Regions from separate parts of the Homo sapiens genome. Here all the other regions are linked to region 1. Evidence: promoter capture Hi-C in 16 types of primary human blood cells and fetal thymus (Javierre and others, 2016). All regions are on one chromosome and are shown on one strand. The core of a region is centred on a gene start or on the middle of the fragment in contact, and the rest is flanking DNA. Distances in the headings are between cores, read along the strand shown. Region 1 holds the start of TADA3 (transcriptional adaptor 3). Region 2 holds the start of BRK1 (BRICK1 subunit of SCAR/WAVE actin nucleating complex). Region 3 overlaps SETD5 (SET domain containing 5).

What was found. Contacts are between HindIII fragments. The CHiCAGO score rates a contact against its expected background, and 5 or more counts as called.
Region 2: the fragment with the promoter of BRK1 here is called in contact with the fragment with the promoter of TADA3 in region 1 in 12 of 17 cell types (activated CD4 T cells, fetal thymus, non-activated CD4 T cells and 9 more); the score reaches 14.8 in activated CD4 T cells.
Region 3: a contact is called between a fragment that was not itself captured here and the fragment with the promoter of TADA3 in region 1, in 1 of 17 cell types (neutrophils). The highest score is 5.4, in neutrophils.

The regions. Positions count from the first base shown.
Region 1 is chr3:9,791,204-9,793,980 of GRCh38, forward strand. It overlaps TADA3 (transcriptional adaptor 3), which reads right to left and starts at 1,270. Exons shown (of 9, transcript NM_006354.5): 1 at 1,013-1,270; 2 at 57-290. The coding sequence starts at 263. It overlaps ARPC4-TTLL3 (ARPC4-TTLL3 readthrough), which reads left to right and starts at 1,345. Exons shown (of 12, transcript NM_001198793.1): 1 at 1,345-1,921. The coding sequence starts at 1,919. It overlaps ARPC4 (actin related protein 2/3 complex subunit 4), which reads left to right and starts at 1,879. Exons shown (of 6, transcript NM_005718.5): 1 at 1,879-1,921. The coding sequence starts at 1,919. RefSeq lists enhancers at 1-97, 1,202-1,728, 1,655-1,754, 1,729-2,255, 2,455-2,544 and silencers at 1,085-1,174, 1,235-1,524. The HindIII fragment of the contact is 10,858 bases long and covers 1-2,777 here.
Region 2 is chr3:10,114,040-10,117,009 of GRCh38, forward strand. It overlaps BRK1 (BRICK1 subunit of SCAR/WAVE actin nucleating complex), which reads left to right and starts at 1,636. Exons shown (of 3, transcript NM_018462.5): 1 at 1,636-1,780. The coding sequence starts at 1,663. RefSeq lists enhancers at 1,444-1,733, 2,184-2,233. The HindIII fragment of the contact is 6,229 bases long and covers 1-2,970 here.
Region 3 is chr3:9,466,602-9,469,742 of GRCh38, forward strand. The region is part of intron 18 of SETD5 (SET domain containing 5); the gene reads left to right. Among named protein-coding and RNA genes, the nearest start is that of SETD5, 71 kb to the left of the region's middle. The HindIII fragment of the contact is 1,914 bases long and covers 805-2,718 here.

The DNA.
Region 1 (2,777 bases), core at 20-2,519:
ATCCCATAACTTGTTGCAGTCCATCTCTGGTGCTGGCCCCTCTCTGGGGTTATCACCTGGGTTTCGGCCTCAAGCACACGCAGGCGCCGGCTGGCAGAAGACAGCAGGGTCTCCAGCTCCAGCTGCAGGGTGTCCAGCTCCTCGATGCCGATGCCATCATCCTCAGAGCGTGCCAGCACTGCCGTGTAGCGGGGACAGACCTTCAGGTGATCCACAGACTTGAAGTCGTGGAACTGCAAGGGGCAGTCTTTCAACTCACTCATGGCCCAGGATATGGGGATCCTGTGGAGCTGGAGAGGACAGGGCCATTGATGGGAGACAAAGTGGTCTGAGAAAAGCCCAAGGGCTTCTTACCTCCAGGGACAGCCTCAAGGAAGCCCAGCTTCAGTCCCTTACTGACAAAATTGATGGCACAGTTCCTACTCACAGGGCACTTAACTGGGTACCAAGCTAGGTGCAGAGCACTTTATCAGTTTATCTCACTGAATTTCTCACTCAGCACCATGAACAAGGACCATTGTGATCTCGTTTTTACAGAGAAAGAAACTGAGACTCTGTAAGGGTGGGTATGTGCCTATGCTTCCAAGATGCAATTTGAACCCCGCTAGTCTTGAGTCTGCACCCTGATCACCATGCTATACTGCTATGCCTTGCCTCGCCTTTCTGATGCTCTTTCCTTCCCTTCTATTTCTCTTGGGTTCTGCTAAGACTTTGAGTTCCAAGCACCCCATTCTTACCATGTTCTCTGGGACTCTTGGCCTCTTTTCTTACCCTATTCCACCTTTCTCCCTTCTCTAGTCACTAACAGTGGTTTAGAACGTGGGCTGGTAAGCCAGACAGACCTGGGTTCAAGCCCAGGCTTTACCATTCTCTACTTATATGCCCCTGAACATGTTATTTGACCTTTTTCAGTCTCAGTTTTTCCATCTGTAAAATGGGGACAAAAGAAGTCTCGGTCTGTTTCCCCATTAAAAGTCTGAATCTGAAAAATGGGGATAACAATAGTACCTACCTCCCTGGGATGTTCTGAGGATTAAGAGATGATGCCCGTCAAGAGCCCAGTTCAGTGTCTGGCACAGAAGTGGGACTGTTTAATGGCTGGCCCCGCCCGGGGGTCGCCCAAATGTCCCGCCTTCAGAGTCCTCGTTCTCTAGGGACACCCTAGTGCGACCCCCGCCCCCTCTACCTCCTCGCTGCGGCCTCCTACGGCCCCAGGGGCCGCGGGAGGGGGCGGGGAGTTCCGGTCGATGTGAGCAACCGCCCCGGAACTGGCTATGGGCGGGCCCCTTGCAGTTGACGCGGGGGCGGGGAGTCAGCGAGGGCGAGCCTACTGGAGTTTGCCGGGGGTGGGAAGAAGGTGGGCCTCGAGCAAAGCCGCTAGAGGTGGGGTGCGGGTGGTCGGCCTCAGGCGAGCCCCGGGGCACAGCCCGGGGCGGGAGGCGGAGCTTGGCGGCCGAGATCTCCGCGCTGCAGTTAGCCCCGCCGAGCGCCAGGAGCTGCGGGTAGGAGGGGCGAGAGAAAGGATGGGGGTACAGAACCGGAAGAAACGAAGGGCTCGTCCGCTTCGGCTTGTCCTAATTTGGTGCCCAATCTGAAGCTGGGCTGTACCATTGCATACCTGGGGGAGGCTGTGGCAAAGGTGACAAGAAGGCCGAAGGCACAAAGGGAAGCTGCACCCATTCCTGGAGGAGCTTAAATAGTGACTCGAGTGCAAGAATTTAAAAATACCGAGACAGCCCTAGGTGGAAAACTTCCGGAAGGCCCAAGCGTTCGTAAGGGCTCTCTACCCCGCTCGGAGCATAGATGGTACCGTCCGGAAGTCCGGGCGGAGACCGTAGCTGCGCTTCTCGCGAAAGGGCAGGCATCGCGGGGCTGGCCACTTCCGTACTTCCGCTTTCCGGCCCAGCCAGCGCCCGCGATGGTGAGAGAGCCGGGCCCCCGGCCAGGGACCCCCGGCTGTTCGGCCTCAGGGCAGTGGGTCGGTGGGAGATGTGGCTTTGCCGCAGGGGCGCGGGGCCGAGGGATGTCCGGGGGTTGTGGGGACACGATGAGGGTGGGAAAAAGAGACGGGGCGGGGGCCCGAGGTGAGGAAGGGGCGAGTGGGGGTACTCCCTGGTATGAAGTGGGCCTTGTGGCTTCACGGTCAGCCTTCGAAGCAGGTAGGGGCTTTTCCTGAGCCCTGTAGGAACCCGGAAGTGGGGTCTCCTAGGCTCTTTGGAGCATTTCGAGGGTACGTAGTCGGCCTCTTAGCCTCTGAGGCATGAAGCAAGTCCACCTGCCTATCCACAGTGGAACTTCACGACATACGCCCTTTGTCCTCTTCTGCCTTCCTGACCCTACAGTTGCTTAAGGCAGGCGGCCACACTTCCTTATCCCATTCTTGGTACCTCCAGCCCTGCTTCCACCCCATTGGAGGATCTCTCGTGTTGCTTCCATTCAGGCCCTTCCTGGTCAGAACTGAACTGTGTCAGCCTTAGTGTATGTTAGCTGTGATACTGCTCATCCCTCCCTTCCTGGAAGTCCTCCCTTTTTCATACATGTGGGCCTTTTTCATACATGTGGGCCTTTTTCATACGTGTGGGCATTCCTGGGAGTTGTGACTTTGGATGACCATCTCCCTCTTCGTCACACCTTCCCTGGTGATACCGATCTAGTCTCCTGGCTTCGATAACTTTCTTCATTCTGATGACTCCTAATCTGGCTTCTCAGCTCTCTTTCAAGGTTTGCCTGGATATCTTGAAGAGACCTTGAAATTAGACCTCTAGTTCAAAACTCAT
Region 2 (2,970 bases), core at 386-2,885, 320 kb after region 1:
AGCAACAGAACAAGACTGTCTCAAAAAAAAGAGCATTTACTGCATGCCAGATTGTAAGTATTCCCTGAAATGAGAATAAAGTTGTTCATATTCCACTACCTTAGCAAAGCAGATAGTGACTTTTTTTGTAGATCCTTCTTGTCCTCAAACATACATTTTTCCATAGTTGCAATTAAAGAAAAATGTGGGCCAGGCAGGGTGGCTCATGTCTGTAATCCCAGCACTTTGGGAGGCCGAGGTGGGCAGATCACTTGAGGTCAGGAGTTGGAGACCAGCCTGACCAACATGCTGAAACCCCGTCTCTACTAAAAAATACAAAAAATAGCCAGGTGTGGTAGCGGGCACCTGTAATCCCAGCTACTTGGGAGGCTGAGGCAGGAGAATCACTTGAACCCGGGAGGCAGAGGTCACAGTGAGCCAAGATCGTGCCATTGCACTCCAGTCTGGGCATTAACAGAGAAACTCTGTCTTAAAAAAAAAAAGTAAGAAAAGGAAGGAAGGAAGGGAGGGAGGGAGGGTATTTTGTTTTTCCCCTCAATTTATTGTATGTGTTTTCATGTTGCTTGTGTTCATAATTAGCATTTAAATGACTGCATAATAGGCCGGGCATGGTGGCTCATGCGTATAATCCCAGCACTTTGGGAGGCCGAGGTGGGTAGATCACCTGTCAGTTCGAGACCAGCCTGGCCAACATGGTGAAACCCCGTGTCTACAAAAAATACACAAATTAGCCAGGCGTGGTGACGTGAGCCTGTAGTCCCAACTACACCAGAGGCTGAGGCTGGAGGATAGCTTGAGCCCAGGAGTTCAAGCCCAGGAGTTCGAGGCTGCAGTGAGCCATGATCATGCCATTGCATTCCAGCCTGGGCGACAGTAAGACCTTGTCTCAGGCTGGGCGAGGTGGCTCACACCTGTAATCCCAGCACTTTGGGAGGCCGAGGCGGGCGGATTGCCTGAAGTCAGGAGTTCGAGACCAGTCTGGCCAACATGGTGAAACACCATCTCAACTAAAAATACAAAAAAATTAGCCGGGCGTGGTGGTGTGCGCCTGTAATTCCAGCTACTCGGGAGGTTGAGGCAGGAGAATAGCTTGAACCTGGGAGGCGGAGGTTGCAGTGAGCCGAGATCACACCACTGCACTCCAGCCTGGGCGACAGAGCAAGACTCCGTCTCAAAAAAACAAAAAACAAGAAAAAACCTTGTCTCAAAAAACAACACAAAAACACAAATTTCCTTCTGAAAGGGACTGTTCCAGTTTGCAGTGTGCCCAGCTATTTATGACCATATTATTTTTTAGACTCCGTCTAAAAAAAAAAAAGACTTGTATTTAATGTGATTTAATCGACTGTGCCCATCTCACTGCGGACACTGAGTGCGCAACCTGAGCCTGGAGCAGTTGAGGGAGACGGCAAGACCCCACGCGCCGTGTAACGACCATAACGCGCGTGCACTACAACCTCGCCGCCGGCGTCCAGGCTTCTGTGTTCTATAGCGTGGGAGTAGAGAGCAAACGCCGGCGAGGACGTGACGTTGCACAGGCCTATCATAGTGCCCGAGAATTCGTGGGTGCTCAAGAGGATGGGTGTGGCCTGGCAGCGCAGGCGCACTAGAGGCCTGTAGGGTCGGGGCGCCTGCGCAGTCGCTCTTCCTCAGGCGGCGGCCATGGCGGGACAGGAGGATCCGGTGCAGCGGGAGATTCACCAGGACTGGGCTAACCGGGAGTACATTGAGATAATCACCAGCAGCATCAAGAAAATCGCAGACTTTCTCAACTCGTTCGGTCAGCGGGCCAGCAAGGGGAGGCGGGGAGGAGGGAGGCCGCTGAGGTGGTTGGGCTGGGGCGCCGGGGAGATGCTTTGAGAGGACTCCCGCAGCCTTCGGCTGTTGCGGGTTTTCACTTCCTCCTTCAGGTCCCACCTTCTCCCTCCCGCCCTGACCCTCAGGCTCCCGTAGACAGTCTCTGTAGGGTTATCCTGCCCTACGCTGAGCTCATGGCTTCCTGCCATCCCTCTGGATCCATTCTACAAGTCCTTCTCCTAGACGCGTCAGGCAGCCCCATCCTCGCTCCGTGGTTCTTCTCCTAAGTGGTCTCCCTGCCTCCTTTGTACTCTGCATCCATTCCGGTCCCCACTTTGCACTCAAAGTGAGCATCCGGGACCGTGTCACTCCTCTGTTTCAAGACTGTTGACCGTTCCCCATCTTCAGGATCTGGTCGATACCCTCTAGCGTCGTGCCTTTTAGTTGGACCCGTTGTCAACCACTCCCGTCTTGTCCATTCCTTCCTGTTTCCTGTGTCTGCTGCGGTGAGAGTGGTGGGAGATGAGGTCAGAGGGATGCCAGGATCTTGTAGGACCTTGGAAGTCCTCTCTGTATTGCTAGTATATATAGCTTATGGTAGGTGTTCTGTCTGCTTCTAGCCCATTCCTCAGAGCTAACACAGGTCGGGTGCCTTCAGCAGAAAGATATCTTTACCAGAATCTTTCCTAGGCATGGCCTGCTTGTGACAGCCTTAAATTCTTCCTTATGAACAGCAAGCAAAGCAATCGAGATTCCTACCCCTTCTTCTCCAAGTGTTTAACAGAACTTGGCACTGGTTAGACTTTCTTGTGTAATTACAGGATATAGGGACTAGTGTACTTTGGAAAGATTTTTAAATGAATGATTCTCTAACTAAAGGACTGATGGCCTTAGGAGTACAAAGGTGACAGAGCAAGAGATTGTCAGAAAGCATCAGCGAGAGATGCTAGAGCTCCATATGAGGCCCTCTCTTAAGGCATAGTGGGAGACACAGAATAAGAACCACTTCCTACATTCAAAGAAGTTCTAATCTTGAAGATGAAATAATGACAACTTCAGGACAAAGAAGAGCATCATTTTTGTATTAAAGTATTTTCATACAGGGTGTTTAGGACTATAATCGTGGCTGAGTTCAATGGCTTATGTCTGTAATCCCAGCACTTTGGGAGGCCA
Region 3 (3,141 bases), core at 512-3,011, 320 kb before region 1:
CCCTGACCCATTCTAATCACCATTTTAATGGCCATACTCTTTGCTGTATTCTAGTACAGAGAGGTGGGGAGCCTTTTTTGTAGCAAAGGCTGTGACACATTGTGAAATATCAAAAAGGTGTCACGTATAAAGACCAGCTTAGGCTGGGCATGGTGGCTCACACCTGTAATCACAGTGCTTTGGAAGGCTGAGGCAGGAGGATTGCTTGAGGCCAGGGGTTTGAGACCAGCCTGGGTAACATCGTGAGACCACATTTCTGCAAAAATAAAATACAAAACTTAGCCAGGTGTAGTGGCATATACCTGTAGTCCCAGCTACTTGGGAGGCTGAAGCAGGAAGATCACTTAAGACCAGGAGTTTAAGACTGCAGTGAGCCATTATTGTGCCACTACATGCCAGCCTGGGCAACAGTGAGATCCCATCTCTAAAAATAATTTAAAGACCAGCTTAGGCCAGGTACAGTGGCACACACCTGTAATCCCAGCTACTCGGGAGGCCAAGGCAAAGGAATTGCTTGAGCCTGGGAGGTTGCAGGGAGCCAAGACTGCGCCACTGCATTCCACATTCCAGCCTGGGCAACAGAGGGAGACTCTCTCTCAAAAAAAAAAAAAAAAAAAAAAAAACAACCTTACTAGATTAGTTTGGGGAAGGATATTTTTGAGAAGGAAAAAAGCATTCAGGAAAATGGTGAGAAGTCTTAAGTGCTAAGGGGAAGAAGGTAAGAAGATAAACAGTGGAAGAGAACAAGATCTTCAGGAGGGGAAAGCATCTAGAAAGAAGAGTGGAAGCAACATTGGGAGGACAAGCTTAGTTAGCCTCTCCTTTCTACCAGAATAACCCTCCCCTCCTATTCTTGCCCTGAGAGCCATACTCCACCCGCCATTTCACACATACGTGCACCTAGATGTACACCACCCACTGTCCATGCCAAGTAAAATTCACAGCCAAAACCCTGCTTTGCTGAAGCAGCCTCATTTCCCCTACCTCAGCATGTGCCTGCCACCTAGGCCACAGTTATTCAGAGTCTACATTAGGCACCCTCTCCTTACCTCAGCCCTAGCACCCCTGAGTCATTGTCACACTACCACCTTCACTCTCTTCACGTGTTCCCATTTACATCTTTCCATTAAGCACTCACTGCTCAGTCTCTGTTATGGGACTGCTGCCTCACCTGAAAGTCCCAAGGTAAAGTCCTACCCTCTGTAGGATACAGGGACCTAAGTATACACATACATGCTTTTTCTGCTCTGTTGCCAAAAGTACAATGGATTTTACAAAATAACATTAATAGGGGTGGCTCAGGTCTAATTAGATTATGCCAAGAACCAACTCTAGCCTGTGAGCTAGGGATTCCATCAATCACATTTCCTGTAACTGTCATTCAAGAGGAACTGGCCATCTCCCTAACCATGTCAGCCCCCAGCACACTAATGTCTCCCCCTGGATAGCACTGGGAGGGCCTGAGGCATATAAGAGAATAAAGAAATGTGACAAGCAGAAGAGGCATTGGATGAAGGAACAAGGTCCATGTAAGGAGGAATAAGGGGTAGGGTGCCCCTCAATAACAAATACTGTAGGTTGCTAAACTCTCATCTAAAATACAAAGACGTATAACACTAAAATTTCACCAGTCTAACTCTTTCCTTGTATGTGCTTGAGATGTTTACTTACAGCATGAAACATTATAACCAATTTATCCTTAAATGCTTTCAGAGATACCAGGAAGCATTTTAACAAGTCATTCTGTCCATTGAGATGAGTTCTGCAGTTAAATATTTCCCCTATGCATTCTTATTCAACTTCCCCGCCCCCGAAAAAAGTTATGGCTAACATCTATGCTTGCTTTTATTTTTTGTTTTGTTTTGCTTCTTGACTTCGAGTAGATGAATAATAACAAGATGCTTTTCCCTCCTCTAGAACATATCCTCCCCTGAGAGTTCCCCTGCGCATAGGCCCGAGTCCCTGTCACCCGAGGTAGTTATCACACCATCTCAATCACACTTGGAGGCTGAGAGTGAGTGTTCATGAATGTGTTCCTGAGTGTGTGGGGAGGGCTGGGGATCTGAGTCAGTGGGGTGATGGGCTGGAGGGCGGCCACTCAGTCACAGTAAGTTGAATGAGTCTTCCTGTGTGACTGTGACTACACAGGACTGTCAATGTAGATGGAGGAAAATGAAGGTAGGAGCGTGTGTGTTTGTGTGTGTGTGTGTTGTGTGTGTGTTTGGTGGGGTTGGTTTTTGCCGTTTGGGGGAGGGGGTGGCTGGAGTTCTATTAAAGAATAGAATCTAGAAGTCAAGATGCTGATATGTGGTAGGAGCCTTGTTAAAGAAAGGCTAATAAATCAGGAAAGTTGAGTCAAAAGTTGTAAGAGCTGTTTTTTGAGTTGGGTGGTGACTTATGCCTTGTTCTAGGGTTAATCTAACAGCTCTGTAAACCAGATGTTTTGACCTTTGGTTGATAGATTGAGCAGCTTCTTCAGGAAGGGAAAGTCATTCTGTCTTTCAGCTTTCCTACATTTTCTCTGCAGCTCCTTACTGGGTGCACAAGGAAACCAAGTGAGTCCCTGGCTTTCTGTCACAGGCCACCATTCTGCAATGGTTAGGATATGGTTGCTATACAAGTGTTATCTCTTTAGGATATCAGTAGAGTGGTTTTCTCACAAACCCTACTGCTGTGGATATGTCAAACTCAGATTTTAGTGCTAGAGTTTCTATTATAAGCTTTCAGATTTAGTAACATTAACTCTGAATCTATTAATACATGGGACCTTTTTTCTCTTGAAGAGAAAGTTAGAGTCTCTCAGAAATAGTCAACTGAACTTTAACCCTATCCCCTTCCAATAAAAAATTAGGGCATAATTCAGTGACAGTCTACTAAGTTCTGAATCAGTAGTAGTTCACAGGTTAATATGAAACTGAAAAAGGTTTTATTCCACTAGTATATTAGAGATTTTCTTGGTGTTTTGACTCTAGCTTGTTAGGAAAGTAAAGCTCTCTCTCCTCAGTTGTTAAAGATTCTAAGATAACGTAATTTGAAGACTGATATGGTATGGTATCTGGTTTTCTGGTACCATTCTTTGTCGGTTAGCTGTAGTTGACCTAGTGTTGGAAGTTTGGAGGTTATGATAACCAAATAGTAGGT